Linked DNA regions of Homo sapiens: all the other regions are linked to region 2. Evidence: promoter capture Hi-C in 16 types of primary human blood cells and fetal thymus (Javierre and others, 2016). All regions are on one chromosome and are shown on one strand. The core of a region is centred on a gene start or on the middle of the fragment in contact, and the rest is flanking DNA. Distances in the headings are between cores, read along the strand shown.

Region 1 (4,060 bases), core at 192-2,691, 120 kb after region 2:
TCTAGTTTATTTTAGTTGCATGCAAAATAAAACAATTGATTAAATTAAAATTGTTCTTTCATGGCTGTAAGCTCTTGGTGAAGACAGGTCAGACAGGTATTTGGGTTAATGTCAGGCAAAAATTTCTGTATCAAAACACAATATTTATACTGGCTTGAGCTAGAATGTTGAGACATTGTTTTAAGGTTTGTTTTTTTAAAATAGCTTTTAGAAGCTTATTGAGGTGTAACTATATATGCTATATAAACTATGATATACAAATATATATACTATACAAAAATATATCTTACAATTTTTTTCCTCAAGAGATACTGTTTTTCTGTCACCCAAGCTGGAGTGCAGTGGTGTAATCACAGCTCACCGCAGCCTTCAACTCCTGGGCTCGAGCAATCCTTCCGCCTCAGCCTCCTGAGCAGCTGGGACTACAGGCACACACCACCACACCTAATTAAAAAAAATTTTTTTTTGGAGATGGGGTCTGTTGCCCAGGCTAGTCTCAAACTCCTGGCTTCAGGCAGTCCTCCCACTTCAGCCTACCAAAGTGTTGGGATTACAAGCTTGAGCCACTGTGCCTGGCCATAGTTTTGTATATAAATGTCTTACTATTATAGTTTGGTAATCGACCTAAATAATACTGTTACATATTGTTTTAAGCCCCCAAAGTTGTCTTACCTAGATGTGGTGCTAGCAAACGTTTTTATAAAGGCAGGAATGTAGAATGGCAAAATGCTGAAATACAAACATACTCTAAGCACACAGACCTTAGTGTCACAGTAGAAACTTCCTGCTTGCAATAATTGCCATTTTAATTTTGGTGCAGAAAGCCTTCTATGGATGTGATAGTTTATGTACCAAAGAGCAATCTCTATTTGAAGAAACTGTGTGGCCTGGTTACAAAAGTGCCTGCTGTATCTGTAACTGTCAGTGGTATTAAAAATACTGATTTATTTTGCCTGTTGTGATAATCAAGAATAGCTTATTTGGATATATGCATGGGATGGTTGCAAATACCAAGTTCAGGTATTTTACTATGGAATATAGATAGGGGTGTTTTCTTCTGGTTTTCCCCACCCCTTTATATATACCTTGATTTTAATTTTTATCAAGTGTGTCTCTTTGGCCTTTGCCGCTGTGGCCCATTGATCTGTCCATCTGTCTGTTACAGTGCATATTGGGTACTTCCAGAAGTATGAATTCAGTGATGCAAAGGACAGGCGGGCTGCAGCAGCAAAGGTAGGACAGAATCATTCCAAAGACAAGTCATTAAAAGACCATTAAACACACATACTTACACACAGACATTGGCAACCAGTACCTCATTATTTAAGGGCACATCATTTATCCTATAAATCTTTGTGGGAAAGTTTGTTTTGACATGACAAATGTGATGTACTTGTAAAGGGCACAATTTTATTATTATGTTTTAAACCAGAAGCCTACTTGGCACTTAGGCAACAAAGTAAATGGCATTTGCCACTGTCTTTAAGATGCCGAATAATAGAAGAGATAATTAAATGGAGGATATTAATGGTATTAATTGATTCATGGAGCTGGCTGATTTTCAGAAACTATGATAAAGGATCCTATTTTGTAAACTGGGAGGAGAAACAGAGAAGATAGATTGAGCTATGTGTGTATATTTATGTGTTAATGTTTATTTATATTCCTGACTCTGGAATATTTTGATGAAAATAATCTAAATCTTCCTGTTATTTCGCTGACATCACTATGAGGAAGATTAAGAAATTCTATTTAAATGTTTGTACCATTTACTTAAGTATTTGTATCAGTTTACTTGCTAAATGATAGCAGTTATAATAGCAATTTCTGGCTTAAAAAAAAAACAGGGTTAGGATGGAAGGGCAATAGCATTTTTATACTGAATCCTAAAACATCAGTTATAGGCAAGTTTTAAAACTTAATCATACGTTGCAAACACTTGAAGATGAAATGGAAGGCTTATAAGGTTAAGTGTTAGGTTTTATGTGTCATTCTAGTATTGGCTGAAAAGTGAGTGCTATAGGGATGGTGGAATGATGCAGATATTTGCATCATTTTCTATGCTGTTATGCTTCTAAAAAGAAGAGGCTATGTTTTCCTAAATAGGTTAGTAGAGTGCTTCTCAAGGCTTCCCAAATGAAAAGTCAGACAAAAATATGTATTTGTTCTTCAGTGAAGATTGTTGGGTTTTCAAACCAGCAATCTTAGCTGTAAAACCTAAGATCTTACCACAGCCTAAATTGTGACTCAAATGCTGATGTTAGTTAATACTTTTATAAACTCCATATACTATATTGAGGAGATCTAGTTTCTTGAATGTGGAAGTGAAGCTTCATAATATACCATAGTAGGGATGTTTCGAATCAATAGTGTTAAAATGTTTTGGGTTTTTTAAAGATTTTTTTTCAGCTGGTCTTGGAAACCTTTTCAGTTATCTGTTTTTGATTCTACCAAAGGTATTAGGTATTTAATGCTCCACTAAATAGATCACAAAAGGGGAGTCTTAAGGAGGTGAAGATGTGAACTTCTTGACTAGATGTAAATCACTGCTCAGAAAGATTTGACTTTTTTAAATGATGCATTCTTATGTCAATAGACTTTAATCTGCAACCAAAATGTTTTTTTTTTAAATAAAAATGAGGCACATTTGTGCTTTCTCACTTCTGCTCCAATTCTACCTTATTCTGCAAGTTGCTATTTTTTCCTTTAGCAGTACACTATAGATTTAAAAATTGTATGGTATTTTCTAATATAACCATATCAATTTATCAGTTTTCCTATTGTTGGACATCTAATTCACTCATATTTGTGTCTTCTTCCTTTCCCTTACAGAGTTTTTGTAAAGAAGGCTGAGTGTTTTCAAAAGTTATGTTTATATTTACATGTGTGTGAACTACCATTTTCTGTATACCCTTGCTGATAACTATTAAGAATCTTGGTCTGGCGTGGTGGCTCACGCCTGTGATCCCAGCACTTAGGGAGGCTGAGGCGGTGGATCACCCGAGGTCAGGAATTGGAGACCAGCCTGACCAACATGGCGAAACCCCGTCTCTACTAAAAATACATTAGCTGGGTGTGGTGGTGCATGCCTGTAATCCCAGCTACCTGGGAGGCTGAGGCAGGAGAATGGCTTGAACCCAGGAGGCGGAGGTTGCAGGGAGCCAAGATCGTGCCACTGCATTCCAGCCTGGGCAACAAGAGTGAAACACTCCATCTCAAAAATAAAAAAAAAAAAGAACTCTTCAAATTTTTATTAATCTGGTAAAGAAAATACTAGTTGTTTTAATTTACATTTTTCTGAATTGCCTTTTTATGTCGTTTGCACCTTTTCATAAATTTTTTTTTTTTTTTTTTTTTTTTTTTTTTTTTTTTTGAGACAAAGTCTTGCTCTGTCACCCAGGCTGGAGTGCAGTAGTGTGATCTCGGCTCACTGCGACCTCTGCCTCCCGGGTTCAAGCCATTCTCCCGCCTCATCCTCCTGAGTAGCTGGGAGGCGCACGCCACCACACTTGGCTAATTTTTGTATTTTTAGTAGAGACGGGGTTTCACCATGTTGGTCAGGCTGGCCTCGAACTTCTGATCTCAAATGATCCACCTGCCTTGGCCTCCCAAAGTGTTGGCGTGAGCCACTGAGCCCAGCCAGTAATGGTATTTAATGTATAATTATTGTAGCTCTTTCTCCAGTTTGTTATTTGTAAGAAAAAAAAAAAGCAATACATGCATGTGGTAACAAATGTAAATGTTATATCTTACAATGATTACATTTATAGCTTTAATATGTCTCTTCCTTTTGACATTATCTCTTTCCTTTTTCTTCCTCCATCCTTGAGAACCCCACTTTATGCCAGCTATAGTTATATGTTATCAAAATATTTTTGTCTTGTGATTATAACCAAATGTTATTAGTTCGCTTATAGCTTGATTTTTGAAGTGACATCATTGAATGTTTGTTTTTATGGTTTATAAATATCAATGACATTCTAAGTAGTGTATTATGATTACTGTTGCTTTTTGTTTTTAACAGGTCTAATTTCAAATGCTGTGAACCTTCCTAAGAACA
Region 2 (4,262 bases), core at 112-2,611:
GAACCCATGCAGCAGAATTGTATTCCTTTACATTGTTGGCTCGACTTACAAATGTGCTGTGGAATAATTATCCTCAAATACAATTTTCAGTACTGATTACATAGCTGCCTAAAAGAAAACTGTTAGCCCCTTCCATTTTATGTGAAACCAATGTCTAAAGCGCTCTTGACTCTTCAACCCCACATTTTCCCCACCCTCATCCCTCCTCAATCCCCAGCCCCCACTCATCACATCCACTAGACCTGAACTTTGAACTCAATCATAATTCTTTGTGCCTCTGCTCAAGCCCTTCTTCCTGCCTGGAATACCCTCTTTTCAGTCCCGGCTAATTACATCTACCATCCCATTCCAAGTGGCCGCTGGAAACTCACTTCCTTATGTTCTATGATTTCTTTCACAATTTACACTTTTTTTGTTTTGTTTTGTTTTGTTTGGGGGGGGGGGTTGTTTTTCTGAGAGGGAGTCTTGCTCTGTTGCCCAGGCTGGAGTGCAGTGGCGCGATCTCAGCTCACCACAACCTCCACCTCATGGGTTCAACCGATTCTCCTGCCTCAGCATCCCGAGTAGCTGGGACTACAGGCGCGCGCCGCCACGCCTGGCTAATTTTTTGTGTTTTTGGTAGAGACGGGGTTTCACTATGTTGGCCGGGCTGGTCTCGAACTCCTGACCTCGTGATCCGCCCGCCAAACATTCTATGTGCCAGAAACTTGTATGTAACTTTGCATAGTTCTTGTATTATGTCTCCCCAATTTTGAGTGTTTTCTCTGGTCTCTACTCAGCCCTTGCTCACAGTCTCACTAGGACCCTGGCTAGCTTGAACACGGTCAGAAGGATCACCTTAGATTTCTGCTGGCACAGTATTTTCCATAAATTAATCTCCTGATTGAACCGTAGTCCTATAGTAGTTATCTTTGGATGAAAACCTAATGCAGCTCGAGGAGGAAGTGGAGTGCCTGTGATCAGAGGGCTGGACAAAAGCCCATAGGGCGTCTCTGGAGCCCTGGGGGAACTGTCCCCAGGCAGGCACTCTCAGGGCCCAGGAACAGGGCGGGACAAGTCCGACTCACCTGTGAGGTAAGGACGGGGCCAAGACCCGGAACCGAAAAGCAGGTCACGATAGCGCTGGAAGGCCTCGTCGAGGACTGAGCAGCCGGGCTGCGCGGCCGAGCTGACATCGTACTGGAATTGAAAGTTGTTCGGGTAAAGGACGTAGCGCTGGTCGGAGGTTTGGAAGTTCTGAGGCCAGGGCCAGAGGGCCGTCGCCCGTCCTGCGAACGCTGCCGCCAGCAGCAGCGAAAACCAAAGCCTGGAGCTTGTCATGGCCCGCTGGTCTCCCCTCTCGGAGGGGGCTGGCCACGTGAGACCCTGGTCAGGTGAGCGGCGCCCCCGTGACTTATCGGCGAATCACGTGACCAGAGGCGGCTCTGCGCCTGCGACCCCAGGAGGACCCACACCCTGCCCTTTCACTTCCGGCCTGGACCTGAGGCTCCTGCTACGTGCAGCGGATTGTGCCGGGCGTCGGCAACTGCTCGGCTCGCCAGACTGTTCACGGGCCCAGTAGAGCAGTAAATAACCGGCCACCCCTGCGGCCGTGCCGGCCGTGATGGAACTAGACAGCTCACCCGACTCGAGAAGAACGGGGTGGGGAGGCGAGGACGCAGGGCGACCTGGAGAAGAAAGTTTCCCAGATGGCTCTAGGGTGAATCTTGAATGTTGTGATGCAGCTCGCCAGGCCTACGGGGAGGTAAAGGACTTGCCAGGCTGAAGTAACTTCAGAAGCAGAAAAACGGAGGATTAAAACCACAAGTCGTTGTGATGTGAAATTTCGTGGGGCAAGAAAGGGCCGGAAGTAGGTAGTCTGCACGGCTCTGCTAGAGAGAGGATCACAAGATCACACAAATGTGATCTACTTATGACTGGAAAAAATGTGTACTTTCAGAGCCAGCTTGAGGCATTCCATTGCCTCCAATATGAGCTCTTCCCTTCAAGATTGACTATAAATCTCTTAGTTACAACTCACATCCCCTTTCCCCAGACAAAACCCCACATAGCCCGGTGTGTATTTACTGAAAGCAGTAAGATATTGCTGGGGCTTTGGGTGCAAGATGGAGAGTGCTCAGAGATAATGACAGGGGCCTGGTCCTGCAGGGCCTTACGTAGAAAGTCAAGGAATTTATTCTCTGAGCAATTGAAAATCATCCCGAAAGATCTGCATTTTAGAAATACCATGTTGAGTAGTTGCATAAGAAACCAGTTAGGAGGCCCCTTTTTATTGGAGGTAGAGAATAATGAGAGACTGAACTACAGAAGTGGGGAAGGAAGACAGCTGTAGATCCAAGAAATAGTATCCGGAAGAGAGGCTTGAGAAGTGATCAAGGAGAATTCCACAGTTATCAGAGACCCTGTCTTCCTTGTTCACCACTATATTACCAGAACATAATACAAATAATGCTATTGTTATTGGGTGGCATTATTTGGTTAGTAGGTACTTTTTAAAATTTTTAAATTTAATTTTAGTATTAAAATACATGTAAAGATCAGGAAAATGAACTTTTAAAAATAAAGGGCTTTCACTGGGCATGATAACACATCCCTGTAGTCCCAGCTACTCCCAGCTATTCAGGAGGCTGAGGCGGCAGGATCACTTGAACCAAGGAGTTCAAGTTTAGCCTGGGCAGTATAGTGAAACCCTTTCTCAAAAACAAATAAAGGGCTACTGAAATAATGATAATTTATATTCAGGTCGTAGGTACCTAATTACTAGTTACACATACATGGCTTTGATGGGAAATCAAAGAAACATTCTGACAATACAGAGATTCATCAAGCAATTTGTCTTTGAAAGTTGATTATTCAAAAACAGAGCTTGTAGCAAAAGAAGCAGAAATTAGATCCCACAGTCATCAAGTTTCAGATCCTAAGGCTTGCATTCTTACACCAATTTCTTCTTTGCTTAAATCTTAATTTTCATCAGCATTAATTAAGTGTCTGGGTACTCTGCCAGTCAGGAGAGATGTTACCAAAGGTACAGGATTTGAGAAGTATTGTCAGAAGAGCCAAGTTCATAATCAGGCCCACAGGATCAATAATTTGGGGGAGTGTTTAGAGCAGTTTCAAAGATGAGAGCAGTAGATCAAAGTAGAATTTCAGGACTGAGCACATGCCAAGGCACCCTTTTATGGATATTCAACCTGTACCAGAAGGGAGGAGTCATTTACTTAAAAGAGTTACACAAGATGAAAGAGCTAGATCCAAATAAAGACGCTATAAAAATTACTAATGGGGCTGAGCATGGTGGATTACAGGGATTCAGTTATTTAATTATTACTGAAAGAGCTCTTTTAGACTTAACCAGATTTTTAAACCAAATATTCTTATGCATACATAAAAGTAAGTTACACAAGATAAATTTGTTGATCTTCCAAAATATCCCCCCTTACTATACACTAGAGTGGGGTTTTGGCATAATGGCAGACAAATAGATGGAACGGAATAGAGGGTCCAGGAAAAGAGCCATTTGATTATTACTCCATTTCAATGAAGACACCAATTTAATTTAGTGGGGAAGGCAAGTTATTTTCAATAAAAGGTGATGAAGAAAATAGATATCCCTATGTGGGAAAAATGAACTATGATCCCCTACCTCACAGCATACACAAACTTAATTAAAAATGGATCACAGGCTGGGGATGGTGGCTCACACCTGCAATTCCAGCACTGTGGAAGGCCAAGATGGGAGGATCACTTGAGCCCAGGAGTTCAAGATCAGCATGGGTAATACGAGGAAATCCCATCTCTCTTTATTTTTTTCTTTTTTGAGATGGGGGTGGTTAATGGGTACAAAAAAAGTAGCCTGAATAAGACATACTATTCGAGAGCACAATAGGGTGACTATAGTCAATAATAATTGTATATTTTAAAAGAGTGTAACTGGATTGTTTATAACTCAAAGGATAAATGATTGAGGGTATGGATAACCCCATTCTCCATGATGTGCTTATTTCACATTGGATGCCTATATCAAAACATCTCAGGTACCCCATAAATATATACACCTACTATATACCAAAAAAACTTAAAATTAAAATTAGACTGGGTATGGTAGCTCATGCCTTAATCCCAGCACTTTGGGAGGCTGAGGCGGGTGAATCACTTCAGGTCAGGAGTTTGAGATCAGCCTGGCCAACACGGTGAAACCCCATCTCTACTAAAAATACAAAAATTAGTGTGGTGGCAGGCACCTGTAATCCCAGCTACTTGGG
Region 3 (3,956 bases), core at 202-2,701, 81 kb after region 2:
CCATCTCAGAAGAAAGGTTCAAGATGGGGTCCATAGAACTCTTAAGAGTGCTATCATTGTTTTGGTAACTTTGAACAAATTTTCCTATAAAAACTGGGGACAAAATACTATAAATATGTGAACAAAAGTCTCTTTGTTACCAGTGGTTAATGGGTATCCCTGCAGCTACCACCTGAAACAGTTTTGGCTCTGACTCCAGAACCAAACTTTCTGGCCTTTAACTGTTTGGTAGGGTGATATAATTCATGTTATACAGCATACTGGTCCAGCTTTTAGAATATATATATATATATATATATATATTTTTTTTTTTTTTTTTTTTTTTTTTGAGATGGAGTTTAGCTCTTGTTGCCCAGGCTGGAGTGCAATGGCACAATCTCGGCTCACTGCAACCTCTGCCTCCTGGGTTCAAGCAATTCTCCTGCCTCAGCCTCCTGAGTAGCTGGGATTACAGGTGCCCGCAACCACGCCCAACTAATTTTTGTATTTTTAGTAGAGATGGGGTTTCACCATGTTAGGCTGGTCTGGAACTCCTGACCTCAGGTGATCCCCCCGCCTCGACCTCCCAAAGTGCTGGGATTATAGGCGTGAGCCACAATGCCTGGATGTAGTTTGTTGGTTGGTTTGTTAAGAACTAATTGTTATGGTAAGATTTGCCTTAGCCTGGGCATGGTGGCTCATGCCTATAATCCCAGCACTTTGGGAGAATAAGACCAGAGGATCCTTGAGTCCAGGAGTTCGAGACCAGCCTGGGCAATATAGTGAGACCCTGTCCCTACAAAAAATTTTAAAAAGTTAGCTGGGTGTGGTGGCGTGCGCCGGTAGTCCCAGCTACTCAGGAGGCTGAGGTGGGAGGATCATTTGAGCCCACGAGGTTGAGGCTGCAATGAACCATGATCACACCACTGCACTCCAGCCTGGGAGACAGAGTGAGGCCCTGTTTCAAAAATTAAATAAATAAAACAAAATAAAATTATCCTATGGTCCACTTCTCTTCTGATTATCTTACTGTAATTAACTCTAGTTTGTTTCCTGACTCATAATTTCCCTCTCCACACCATGCCCTTTTCTCTCTTCTCTGCTTCCATACACAAATTCAACTTCTTCAACCCCTTGTTTTACACATTTTTAGTGACACTCTTGCCCGTGATGTTATCATTTAAAAACTTTATTTAGGCTGGGTGCAGTTGCTCACATCTGTAATCCCAGCACTTTGGAAGGCTGAGGTGTGCGGATCACCTGAGGTCAAGAGTTCGAAACCAGCCTGGCCAGCATGGTGAAATCCTGTCTCTACTAAAAATACAAAAATTAGTCCGGCATGGTGGTGGGCTCCTGTAATCCCAGCTACTCAGGAGGCTGAGGCAGGAGAATCACTTGAACCCAGGAGGCGGAAGTTGCAGTGAGCCTAGATCACACCATTGCACTCCAGCCTAGGCGACGGAACGAGACTCCATCTAAAAAAAAAAAAAAAAAAAACAAAACTCCAAAAAAACTTTATTTACACTGAGTAACAAATAGCTAGTGTTTATTGAATGCTTACCATGCGCCAGGCACTGTATTAAGCATTTTACATACAATATATCAATTGTTATACTTTTATTTTGAGTACTATTAGATCCTCCACTATACAGATAAGACCCAGAAATATTGAGTAACTTGCCCAAAATTACATAACTAGTTAGGTGGTGACGTAGGATTTGAAATCAAGCATTTAGACTCCAGAGCCTCTACTCTATTGTCTCCTATAAAAGCAAGGATTAAAGAAAAGTAGGCCAGGCGTGGTGGCTGATGCCTGTAATCCCAGCACTTTGGGAGGCCGAGGTGGGTGGGTCACGAGGTCAAGAGCTCGAGACCATCCTGGCCAACATGATGAAACCCCGTCTCTACTAAAAACATAAAAATTAGCTGGGTGTGGTGGTGGGTGCCTGTAGTCCCACCTACTCGGGAGGCTGAGGCAGGAGAATCACTTGAACCCGGGAGGCGGGGGTTGCAGTGAGCTGAGATTGTGCCACTGCACTCTAGCCTGGCCACAGAGTGAGACTCCATCTCAAAAAAAAAAAAAAAAAAAAAAAAAAAGAAAAAGGAAAGTGTACTACACTATGATGAAAGAGATGAGAGTTTTGTGTTTTTTTGATAGTAACTAGCTAATATATCACTATGGACAGGTCATAATTGTTCTGATTTTCTCATTCATATATAAGTTGAAGTAGAACCAACTACTGTGTCATAATACTCTGTGATTCTGTTATGTGAAAAGTGTATCTTTTGATCTTTTGTCTCCTGATATGAAAGGACTTTGGCATTTCAGCCCCTTCTCCTATATTTTCATATTTATTCTAGCACTAGCTTACATTCTAACAGTGAAACACAGGTAAATATGTATTTTATGTGTGTTCTGTTTCTATTTCTGTAAAGCAAAATGTATCTGAGTAGCATAAAATTTTTAGAAAATTTCAAGTCTCATCCCTATTTTTCTGGTACTTTTAGATCTGATATCTTGATGATGGCAGAAGTGGCTTAAAGTTGGAAAATTATTGTGGTTTTGCCCAACGTGGCAAATCAGTGCTTTTTATTTTGTATATAATGTGTAATTTTCACAGCTATAACAATTGGTTATTATATATTGATCTTTGAAAAAGCAATGTATTCCAGTAGCATTTTTTTAAACAGGGTCTTGCTCTGTCACCCAGGCTGTAGTTCAGTGGTGTGATTGTAACTCACTGTATCCTCAATCTCCCAGGCTCAAGTGATCCTCCCACCTCAGCCTCTTGAATAGCTGGGACCACAGTGAGCACCACTTTTTAAATTTTTTGTAGAGATGGGGTCTCAATATATTGACCAGGCTGGTCTCAAACTCCTGGGTTCAAGCAATCCTCCTGCATCAGCCTCCCAAAGTGCTGGGATTACAGTGTGAACCATCATGCCCCACTAGTATTTTCTTTTGTGTTCCTATCTATTTCTTGAATTCATGTTTCCTTATGTTTATCAAGCCTAGTTTCTTTTACTTTTAGGAATTAAGGCTGAATTAGGACTTTTAATGACTCCCATACTAAAACTTCTTATCCTTTTAAAGCTGAAATACATTGGGAGGATCAGCAAGGTCAGAGAAAGAGAGGGTAGGTGGGGATAAGAGAGTAAAGCCCTTTTGCAAATAGGCATACTTACACAGACTGAAAGCAGGCCCTTCAATCTCTCTGCAAGTATTTAATCTCTCTACAAAAATTAAAGTGTGTTTGCTTGTTATCTTTTTCATTCTTTGGAAAACATTTTAGCTATCGTTACTATTATTTTGACATTTTATATTTGCCTTTTTTTTGGAGGAGTCAGTACTGAAGGGGGAATTTAACTTTTAAAATGGCCACTTATACATAACTAGCATAGAAGCAGAAGAAAATATAGGTAAGCAAGAAAAGAAAGATCATTTTAATTGGAATGTGATGGTGGCACAACTCTGTAAATGTATTAAAACTCATTGAATCATATACTTAAAATGGATGAATTTGCCTCTTTTTTCTTTGTTCAACCACATACGATAACCATCTTTCCAGGTCAATTCATATTCCACAATATCATTTTAAATGGGGACACAATTTTCGATTTTATATTATGTAATTTGTTTTAATTTTTTTTTTTTTTTTTGAGACGGAGTCTTGCTCTGTCGCCCAGGCAGGAGTGCCGTGGTGCGATCTTGGCTCACTGCAAGCTCTGCCTCCCAGGTTCAAGCAATTCTCCTGCCTCAGCCTCCCGAGTAGCTGGGACTACAGGTGCATGCCACCACGCCCGGATAATTTTTTGTATTTTCAGTAGTGATGGGGTTTCACCATGTTAGCCAGGATGGTCTCGATCTCCTGACCTCATGATCCGCCTGCCTTGGCCTCCCAAAGTGTTGGGATTACAGGCGTGAGCCACCACGCTCGGCCATAATTTGTTTAACCAATTGATTCCCTGAACATTTT

The links. The method cuts DNA at HindIII sites, captures the fragments that hold promoters and counts their contacts. A CHiCAGO score of 5 or more calls a contact.
Region 1: a fragment that was not itself captured here is called in contact with the fragment with the promoter of HEXA in region 2 in 8 of 17 cell types (total B cells, naive CD4 T cells, M1 macrophages and 5 more); the score reaches 9.1 in total B cells.
Region 3: a fragment that was not itself captured here is called in contact with the fragment with the promoter of HEXA in region 2 in 7 of 17 cell types (M1 macrophages, M0 macrophages, M2 macrophages and 4 more); the score reaches 7.2 in M1 macrophages.

Annotation. Positions count from the first base shown.
Region 1 is chr15:72,495,626-72,499,685 of GRCh38, forward strand. All of the region lies in intron 1 of ARIH1 (ariadne RBR E3 ubiquitin protein ligase 1), which reads left to right. Among named protein-coding and RNA genes, the nearest start is that of ARIH1, 23 kb to the left of the region's middle. The HindIII fragment of the contact is 1,773 bases long and covers 556-2,328 here.
Region 2 is chr15:72,374,653-72,378,914 of GRCh38, forward strand. It overlaps HEXA (hexosaminidase subunit alpha), which reads right to left and starts at 1,362. Exons shown (of 14, transcript NM_000520.6): 1 at 1,068-1,362. The coding sequence starts at 1,320. HEXA-AS1 (HEXA antisense RNA 1) reads left to right here and starts at 1,461. Exons shown (of 1, transcript NR_027262.1): 1 at 1,461-4,136. RefSeq lists enhancers at 598-1,153, 1,154-1,710, 1,602-1,741, 2,072-2,121. The HindIII fragment of the contact is 8,315 bases long and covers 1-4,262 here.
Region 3 is chr15:72,455,380-72,459,335 of GRCh38, forward strand. The region is part of intron 1 of TMEM202-AS1 (TMEM202 antisense RNA 1); the gene reads right to left. Among named protein-coding and RNA genes, the nearest start is that of TMEM202-AS1, 17 kb to the right of the region's middle. The HindIII fragment of the contact is 7,934 bases long and covers 1-3,956 here.